Linked DNA regions of Homo sapiens: region 1 is linked to region 2. Evidence: promoter capture Hi-C in 16 types of primary human blood cells and fetal thymus (Javierre and others, 2016). All regions are on one chromosome and are shown on one strand. The core of a region is centred on a gene start or on the middle of the fragment in contact, and the rest is flanking DNA. Distances in the headings are between cores, read along the strand shown.

What was found. The method cuts DNA at HindIII sites, captures the fragments that hold promoters and counts their contacts. A CHiCAGO score of 5 or more calls a contact.
Region 1: a fragment that was not itself captured here is called in contact with the fragment with the promoter of CORO6 in region 2 in 1 of 17 cell types (M2 macrophages); the score reaches 5.7 in M2 macrophages.

What each region holds. Positions count from the first base shown.
Region 1 is chr17:29,827,383-29,831,222 of GRCh38, forward strand. All of the region lies in intron 2 of SSH2 (slingshot protein phosphatase 2), which reads right to left. LOC124900390 (a long non-coding RNA gene) reads right to left here. Exons shown (of 2, transcript XR_007065694.1): 2 at 1-332. Among named protein-coding and RNA genes, the nearest start is that of SSH2, 100 kb to the right of the region's middle. The HindIII fragment of the contact is 1,626 bases long and covers 1,380-3,005 here.
Region 2 is chr17:29,620,584-29,624,162 of GRCh38, forward strand. It overlaps CORO6 (coronin 6), which reads right to left and starts at 2,329. Exons shown (of 11, transcript NM_032854.4): 1 at 2,105-2,329; 2 at 641-901. The coding sequence starts at 838. RefSeq lists enhancers at 1-22, 2,930-3,579 and a silencer at 1,993-2,142. The HindIII fragment of the contact is 1,950 bases long and covers 1,140-3,089 here.

The sequences.
Region 1 (3,840 bases), core at 943-3,442, 210 kb after region 2:
GATTGTTTCCTTGGCAGGGGCAGAGGGTGAAATGGTAACAGGCATCAGATTACTAACTTCAGAAGGACAGCAATTTTTGTTTTTGTATCTCAAGCAACTAGAACAGTGCTTGGAACATACTAAGTTAGTGATAAAGAAGCCCAAGAATTAAGCTCCTTTTCCTATTTTAAGTAATAGTCAACAGCAATAAAAATAAATTTGGTTTTCTCACTTTGTCATTCTTCTAAAACTTGGCTAAACACATTTCCACAGGAATAAAATGCTTGGTTTCCAGGAAGTTCCAGGTAATATGCATTATGACTTGGCATATCCCTCAGTATAGCTTTTTGAAGCTGGAAAGGACAAACACAAAACAATGAAGAAATAATTTAGGGAAAAAATAAATAGAATGAATGAGTACAGAAAAAAAAAAAACCCCAGCATAGCTACAATATCTGTAATGTGAATGTTTTTCTAAATCAATATAAGCCTTAGGTTTTAGTAGTAATGCTATCTAATACATTTCTTAACCATTTTAAAGAGGATAATTACATATGATAGAACCTCTGCTTACCTTCCTGCCATAGCTGGGTTAAGCTGTATTTCTAGCCAATTCCTAACACTCTCCTAATTACTAGAACAATTTAGCTGATGCTTTTGGTTCTTCACTTAGAGAACTAAGTAACAGAAAAGGCAGCCATGGAGGTAGAGCCATCATGTTAGACTAGATAAAGGATAAGATACAAAACTCACCTGTATTTACAAAAACAGAATTATTGATCATCTGTGAACCCTGCCATCACAGGAAGTCTTTAACAAATTCAGTAAGTGATCTTGATTGCAATGAACTCTCATTGACTACACAAGAAACTTTTAATTTTTCCTTTCGTAGCACTTGGCAGCAAAACCCCCTTAAGAATCCTGCTCTTTTATCTTCTTAAGCTACACAACAAATTTAAATACAAAGTAAAGACTTTCTCAGCAGGGTCTGAATCTACTGTGAACTTTTAGAATAGATTCCCAACCACTCAAAACTCCCTAGGACTCCTACAGAAAGATGGCATGCTTTAACCCCTCTTCCTAGTTCCACAAAAATGGATCAAAAGCAGAAATGTGTGTTTTAGAGAAAAGGCTAAAGACAGTGAGAATCCCTGGAAGCAAGTGATTTGCCAAACTTTAAAGCAGAAGAGAATACACATTTTCTGGGTACCAATTCCTTAGAAAATATTAAATCAGAAGATCCCAGTTTCCAGGCCTAGAATTACATATTGCTGAATGAAATAAATCAATGGTATTTAAATCCTTTGTGAAGCTAGAACAATCTATTTTGGTAAAGCAGTTTTTGGGGAGACATTATTAACATTTCAAATACTATCAACAATTAACCTTGATCAACCTGAAGCTTTGTTCAGCAGTATAATTACAGACGTTACCTAGTATTGTGGGAAACAAAGACACACAGACATTTCCAAGCAACTAACTACATTCTGTCATTTCCTGCAAGTGACAGAACCTTTTCATTGGTGTTTGTGAAAAGCCAGCTTCAAAGCAAAACCCCAGTGGCGTTAAAGTAAGCAACCCTTCTGCTTCCATTTCCATCTCCAAATGACATTTGTAAAATTAAACCATATACATGTTTCTGTACCATTTGAGACTAGAGTCCTAAAGTCCATTAGTGTAGGCTAGACAAGTCCACATGTGACCCATGAATGGAGTGCTATTCCATGAGCCACAAAAAGTGGGTGGATCTCAGAGGGACATCTGAACCTTTCATGAGATTGTTAGACTGTAATAGTGGCTGTTTATTAAAGGCTAACAATGTGCCAGGCCTTAGTCGAAGTGCTCTGCAACCATTATCTCATTTAATCTTCACACTAATCCTCCCTCCAAGGTAGGTATACTATTTATCATTTCCATTCCTTGGATGAAGAAATTAAGACAGAAGAAAAGTAACTTAACTAGGGTCATATACATTCCTTACCACCACACCATAACACCATACTACTATTCTGCCAACTTCCCTTTTATTAAGAGCTCCATTCCCTGACAAGTGAGTTAACCAAACTAAATCACAGGGATATGAAGCCCCAACTGTCGATGGCTTGTGTGTGTGTGTGTGTGTGTCTGTACATATATATATGGAGAGAGGAGAGAGGGAAGAAGGGAGCCTGGGTTCTTCCTTCGCTGCTGTATTCACATTTCCTTGCCTGACCTCTTTCTTCAGGGTATGACTTTAGCTTCCATTTATTGTGTATACGTTACCTATCACTCATTTATTCTTCTTTTAACCAATATGTACAGAGTACCTCCTATGTGCTAGACATTGTACTGATTGCTGGGGAAATAGTTGTGCTCATATAGAAGCCCATTCTCCATAGCAAAGACAGGCAAATATTTTTAAAAAATCTCAACCTGGTCACTCCCCAGCTGAAAACTCTTCAGTGGCTTTTTGTTGTCCAAGAAATAAAGATCAAGATTTTTTTTTTTTTTTTTTTTGAGACAGAGTCTCGCTCTATCGCCCAGGCTGGAGTGCAGTGGTGCAATCTCGGTTCACTGCAAGCTCCGCCTCCTAGGTTCATGCCATTCTCCTGCCTCAGCCTCCCGAGTAGCTGGGACTACAGGTGCCCGCCACCTCACCTGGCTAATTTTTTGTATTTTTAGTAGAGATGGGGTTTCACTGTGTTAGCCAGGATGGTCTTGATCTCCTGACCTGGTGACCCTTCCGCCTCGGCCTCCCAAAGTGCTGGGATTAGAGGTGTGAGCCACCGCACCTAGCCAAGATCAAGATTTTTGACTTAGTTTATAAGGCTGCAGCATCTGGCCTTTTGCTGACTTTATCAGCACCAGCTTGAGTTATTTTCTCCCTTATTTTCTTTGTTCCAGCCTTACTGACCTTCTGTCAGTTCCTTGAATGTGCCAGTTTCCTGATCTGTAAGTTTTTAATTCGTGTCTTCCCCACCTAACTTTTCCCTGGTTGACTTCAACTCATCATTAGAGTACAACTCAAAATACCATTTCCCCAAGAAAGCTTTCCCTTGACCATGAACCTTAACATCACTTTTTCCCCCAAGCCAGGTTAGGTCCCTGATTGCTATATTCTCATAGTATTGTATACTTTCCGATTTGCAGAATTGATCATAATTTAAAATTTCACTGCATAATTAGCTGTTTAATCCCACCTTTCTCCACTAGAGTATAAGTTTCAAAGGGAAGAATCATGTTTATGGTTTATCACATGCACCACCATATCCTCAGCAACCACTGCAGTGTCTAGCACATAGGAGGTACTCAGCACATATTGGTTAAAAGAATAAATGAGTGAAAGGTAATAATATACATAAGAAATGGGAGCTAAGGACATGCCCTTAAGACATAGGGGTCAGGCAAGAAAGAGTAAATACAGTCAGTGAAGGAGTACCCAGGCCAGTTCTGCTCTCCTCTTGGTATTATGCCTGGTATAGCTGCTCCAGTCTGAGCCAGTTTAATTAGTTCAAGATAGAGATGTAGAACCAGACTAGTGGAAACCACAAATGGGAAAGGAAATGAAGCAGTAGTGCTTTAATGCATGACAATGAGAGATGGAGGCTGATCATAAGTCCTGGGCATAACTTTGCATAGTAGAATTTAAATTATTACTACACAGCAACATTACATTTGATTAACGTGCCAGTGGATTTTAATTTTTACTTGTTATATGGAGCTCATAACAGGATAAGCCATAAATTCTGGGTGCCAGAATTGTTTGATATAGTCGTGGCTGCTTTGCAGCTCACCTTTAAGGCATCTAGCAGACCCGGGTGAGGGTCTGCTACTGTTAAAGAAATTTGAGAAGGAAAAAAGCAGTTACATGTAGAAAGAAAC
Region 2 (3,579 bases), core at 1,079-3,578:
GGGTTGGGGGAGAGTCATCCTTGGGATGTGGATGGTCAAGGGGCTTAAGGTTATGAAGCTAACGTGGTAGTCATTGCCTGGTCCCCATCCTGAGGGTAGGGAGGGCTCTGGCTTTATGTGTCATGTCCCCCTTCCTTTCCGTTCCCTTTCTTTCTACTTCACTGCAAGTGTCCTTGGAGGTAACCAGGGACTCTTTGGATAGAGCCTGACCCTGTCCTCAGTTTGCTGCTCTGGGATGTGACTTAATCAAATGGTCATCTTGGGCTAGGGAGGAGGTTCTCCACACCCAAAACATGAGGGGATGCGGCATTAGGAGAGGCAGTGATGGAATCTGGCCAGGCTTGGCTGTGCTGTGTCCCAACCATCTCCATCACCCGGCTCCCCTCCTGGTCCCTGCTGGGAATGGGGTGGTGCATGGAGAGGTGGGAGGGCTAGGGAGTGGGAGTAAGCCACCCTGATGTTAGGGTGGGGTGGGGTGGCCTCCCCTCTGGTCCTTGAGGGCTTGGGGAATAGGGAGGAGCCAATCCACACAGATGCTTCTCCTGACTATGGAATGGAACTAGGTGAGAACAAAGGCTCAGGAGTTCCCAGGGGCCCCAGCTAGTGTCCTCCCACTTGCTTCCTTTCCCTGATCCCTCACCTTGGCCAGAGGCAGGACGATGAAGGCACCCCCGCCTCCAGCCTCCACAATAATGGCCAGGAATTTGGGGTTGACGGCACAGAAGGAGCTGTCCCATGTGACCTTGGACACACGGATGTCCTCGTAGGCCTGGTCGGCCTTTGCTGCCTGCCCAAACACATGGCGGAACTTGCTTTGCCGAACCACACGTCTGCTCATAGCTGCAGGCAGAGAGGTAGGATCTCAGTGCCCAGAAATGCCTTTGGTCCTTAGTCCTGTGAGCTGCGGGAGGGAGGAGGAGTGGAGGGGTGGCTGATGAGAAGGGTTATGTGGTCAGGAGTCAGGTATAAATCCATATAGTGTCTGGTCCTAGAAGCAGGGAGCTTTCTTCAAGGTGGTCAAAGTATGGGAAAGTTATTTTGCTGTGTAAAATGCTGTTTAATGTAAGTGGCTAGGATTTGGGGCCTGAATTCTCCACAGAGACCCAGGCTGAGGGGATTGTGGAGCCTAACAGACTGAAAGCTTTCTGGACGTTGGAATGTTTTTGGGAGGAGCCTCAATGCCACACTGCCTGCACCCCCCGCCCCCACCACCGCCAGCCTTGATGAGCATCTCTTCACGGACGTGGTTGTAGCTCCCAGAGGCACCCTGTCCAGAAGCAGAAGACTTGACCATTGGATCTTGGCTTAAAGCCAGGTATGGGGCCAAGACTGCAGCCACCACAGGATACCGAACTCGCATCTCTGGAATAGTTCAGGCAGATGGGGTTTTGCCTTTTCCTAAAATTTTGCCAAGGGGGAAGTTCCTCCTGTCCACCAATCTGAGTCCTTTCTGCTACTGTTTTCATCCCATGCCTTGTGGGGGGACGGGTGGCAGCACAGAGTGAGGTGGATCCCTCTTCTCCCACTCCTTTCTGCACTGGCTTCTCCAGGAAGCCCTGATCATGGTCTTCTGGCTTTTGCCTACCATAGGCTTGTCCGGTTTCTCCTCTGGGTCCTCTGCCCTGGTTGGGCCTTCTTCCTAGTGAACTCTTCTAGGGGTGGGGTCTTCAACCCCATCCTCCACCCCTGCCCCCGCCACGGCCAAGCCAGATTTGCAGGGGTGGGGAGGGTGAGGTGCCTTTTCTCCAGCTAGGGTCTCCCTAGAGGACACACTGAGCACTCCCAAAGCCCCAGCCAGTGGCTCCTGCCCCACCCCAGCCCCAGCATCCGTGTGCCCTTCAAGGCGCGTCTGCGGCCCCGAGCCTGAGGCCCGGCCTCCCTGCACCCTTCTTCAGCCTGCTGCCCTGACACTGCGTTCTTGCGAGACGAGGTGTCTGCGCCCTCCGGGAGCGCTGGCTGCTGTCCGGCCAAATATAGACACCACGTCCTCCCCGCCCGAAACCGAATTTGGCGGCGCGGGGGGAGGAGGCGCAGACCTCTGCCCCTCAGGGACCCCGCCCGCTCCGCTGGCTGCGGTGACGGCCGGGTGTGGGGGGCTGGGTACCTGGTCCTGAGCGGGCTGCGGGGCGCTCACGCTGCGAATCCTCTGCGGAAGGGGCCCGAGTGCGTAGGGGGCCGAGGAAGGCTTCAGGGCGAAGGAGCCACCTCTCCGGGTGTCTGTAGTATCTGGGACCCGGGTGTCCAGCTCCGCACTCTGGCCGATCCTGCGGCTCTCTAGAGCCCGGCGCCGCTGCAGCCCCAGCTGCCGCTGCCATCAACCTAAGAGGGCGGGGCTAGCATAGGGGCGGGGCCAGAGCCCAAGTTGCCCCGCCCCCTCCAGCGGCGGGAAAGTCGAGCGACCCCGACTCCCCTCCCAGCTTCCGCCGGCCTCGGAGAACCATCGAAAATAAATGTGCAGCTGTGTGCTAGGTGCGCACGCTGCTTCCCTCCCTCCATGACTCCCGGGTAGGCTGGGGAGGCTCGGGTTCGCAGACCTAGAGCAGGACGCTTGGAGAGGGAACGGGCGAGGGGGCGTGCGCCCCTAGAGCGGGCAGCCGAGGGAGACCAGGTGCCTCCACCCGCATTCCAGCCTCAATCGCGCTCCCAATTTAGCTGTCCCGATCGGCCGGGACTGCGGGACTGCACTTCCAGGCCTCCCTGGGGGAAAGAGGCCCTAGAGAATGAGGACCCAGGCTGATCCTGATGTAGGGCAAGTGAGAGGGCACCCGACACAGGGTTGTGAATGTTAGTTATTGTTATGAATGGCAATAGCGATCATTTGAGAAACCTAAAATGCTGGCTGTGTGCTAGGCATTTCACCCCATTAGATGAGATTCCATGGAGCAGGGCAGGAAGCAGCTGAAAGAACAAGGGGAGGACCGAGTGTAAAGTGAACCCACCTTGACACTCCCTCCCCTCCCAGATGCAGGGGGAAGAGGCTAGCACCGGTCTCTAGTCACATTTTAGGGGTCAGAGAAGCCAACTCAGAGGCCAGACTCCTAATGTTTTCTGGGCCTTGTTTGAATTGGCGCCCGACTGTGTTCCAGGTAAGCTTCCCCCGTCTCCCCCAATATTCACAGAACTGAATGTTGACCGAGGTCAAGGAGATTAAAGATAACCTGATCAAAATACAGCCAGTGAAGACCAGCCAGTCCCGTAGCTCCAGTCTACCCAGTGTCTGCACATTGCCTGGATTTCTTCCCTTGGATCATAAGGGCATCTGGGGCCAGTTATTACTTCCCACCCTCCAGGGCACACCTGGGAGTGAGTGAATGGAACACAGCCTTCTGAAGGGCAGGAACCAGCACTGGGGAGGAAAGGGAGGGAAGGTGGTAGAAACCATGAAGGGCCCACGAGGCTCCTTTGTTTCTCAGGAAGAGTCCAGGTGGCTTGTAGGGACAGAATCAAATCAAGAGTCAGTGGCTTGTAGGGGAACAGAATAAAAAACTGTTACGAGTGCTCCAGAAATAACTCCTGGCGTAGGGGTGCTGGGGCAGGGTATGAGGGTATGTGAGTCATCTCTCTTTTACCTAAAGATTC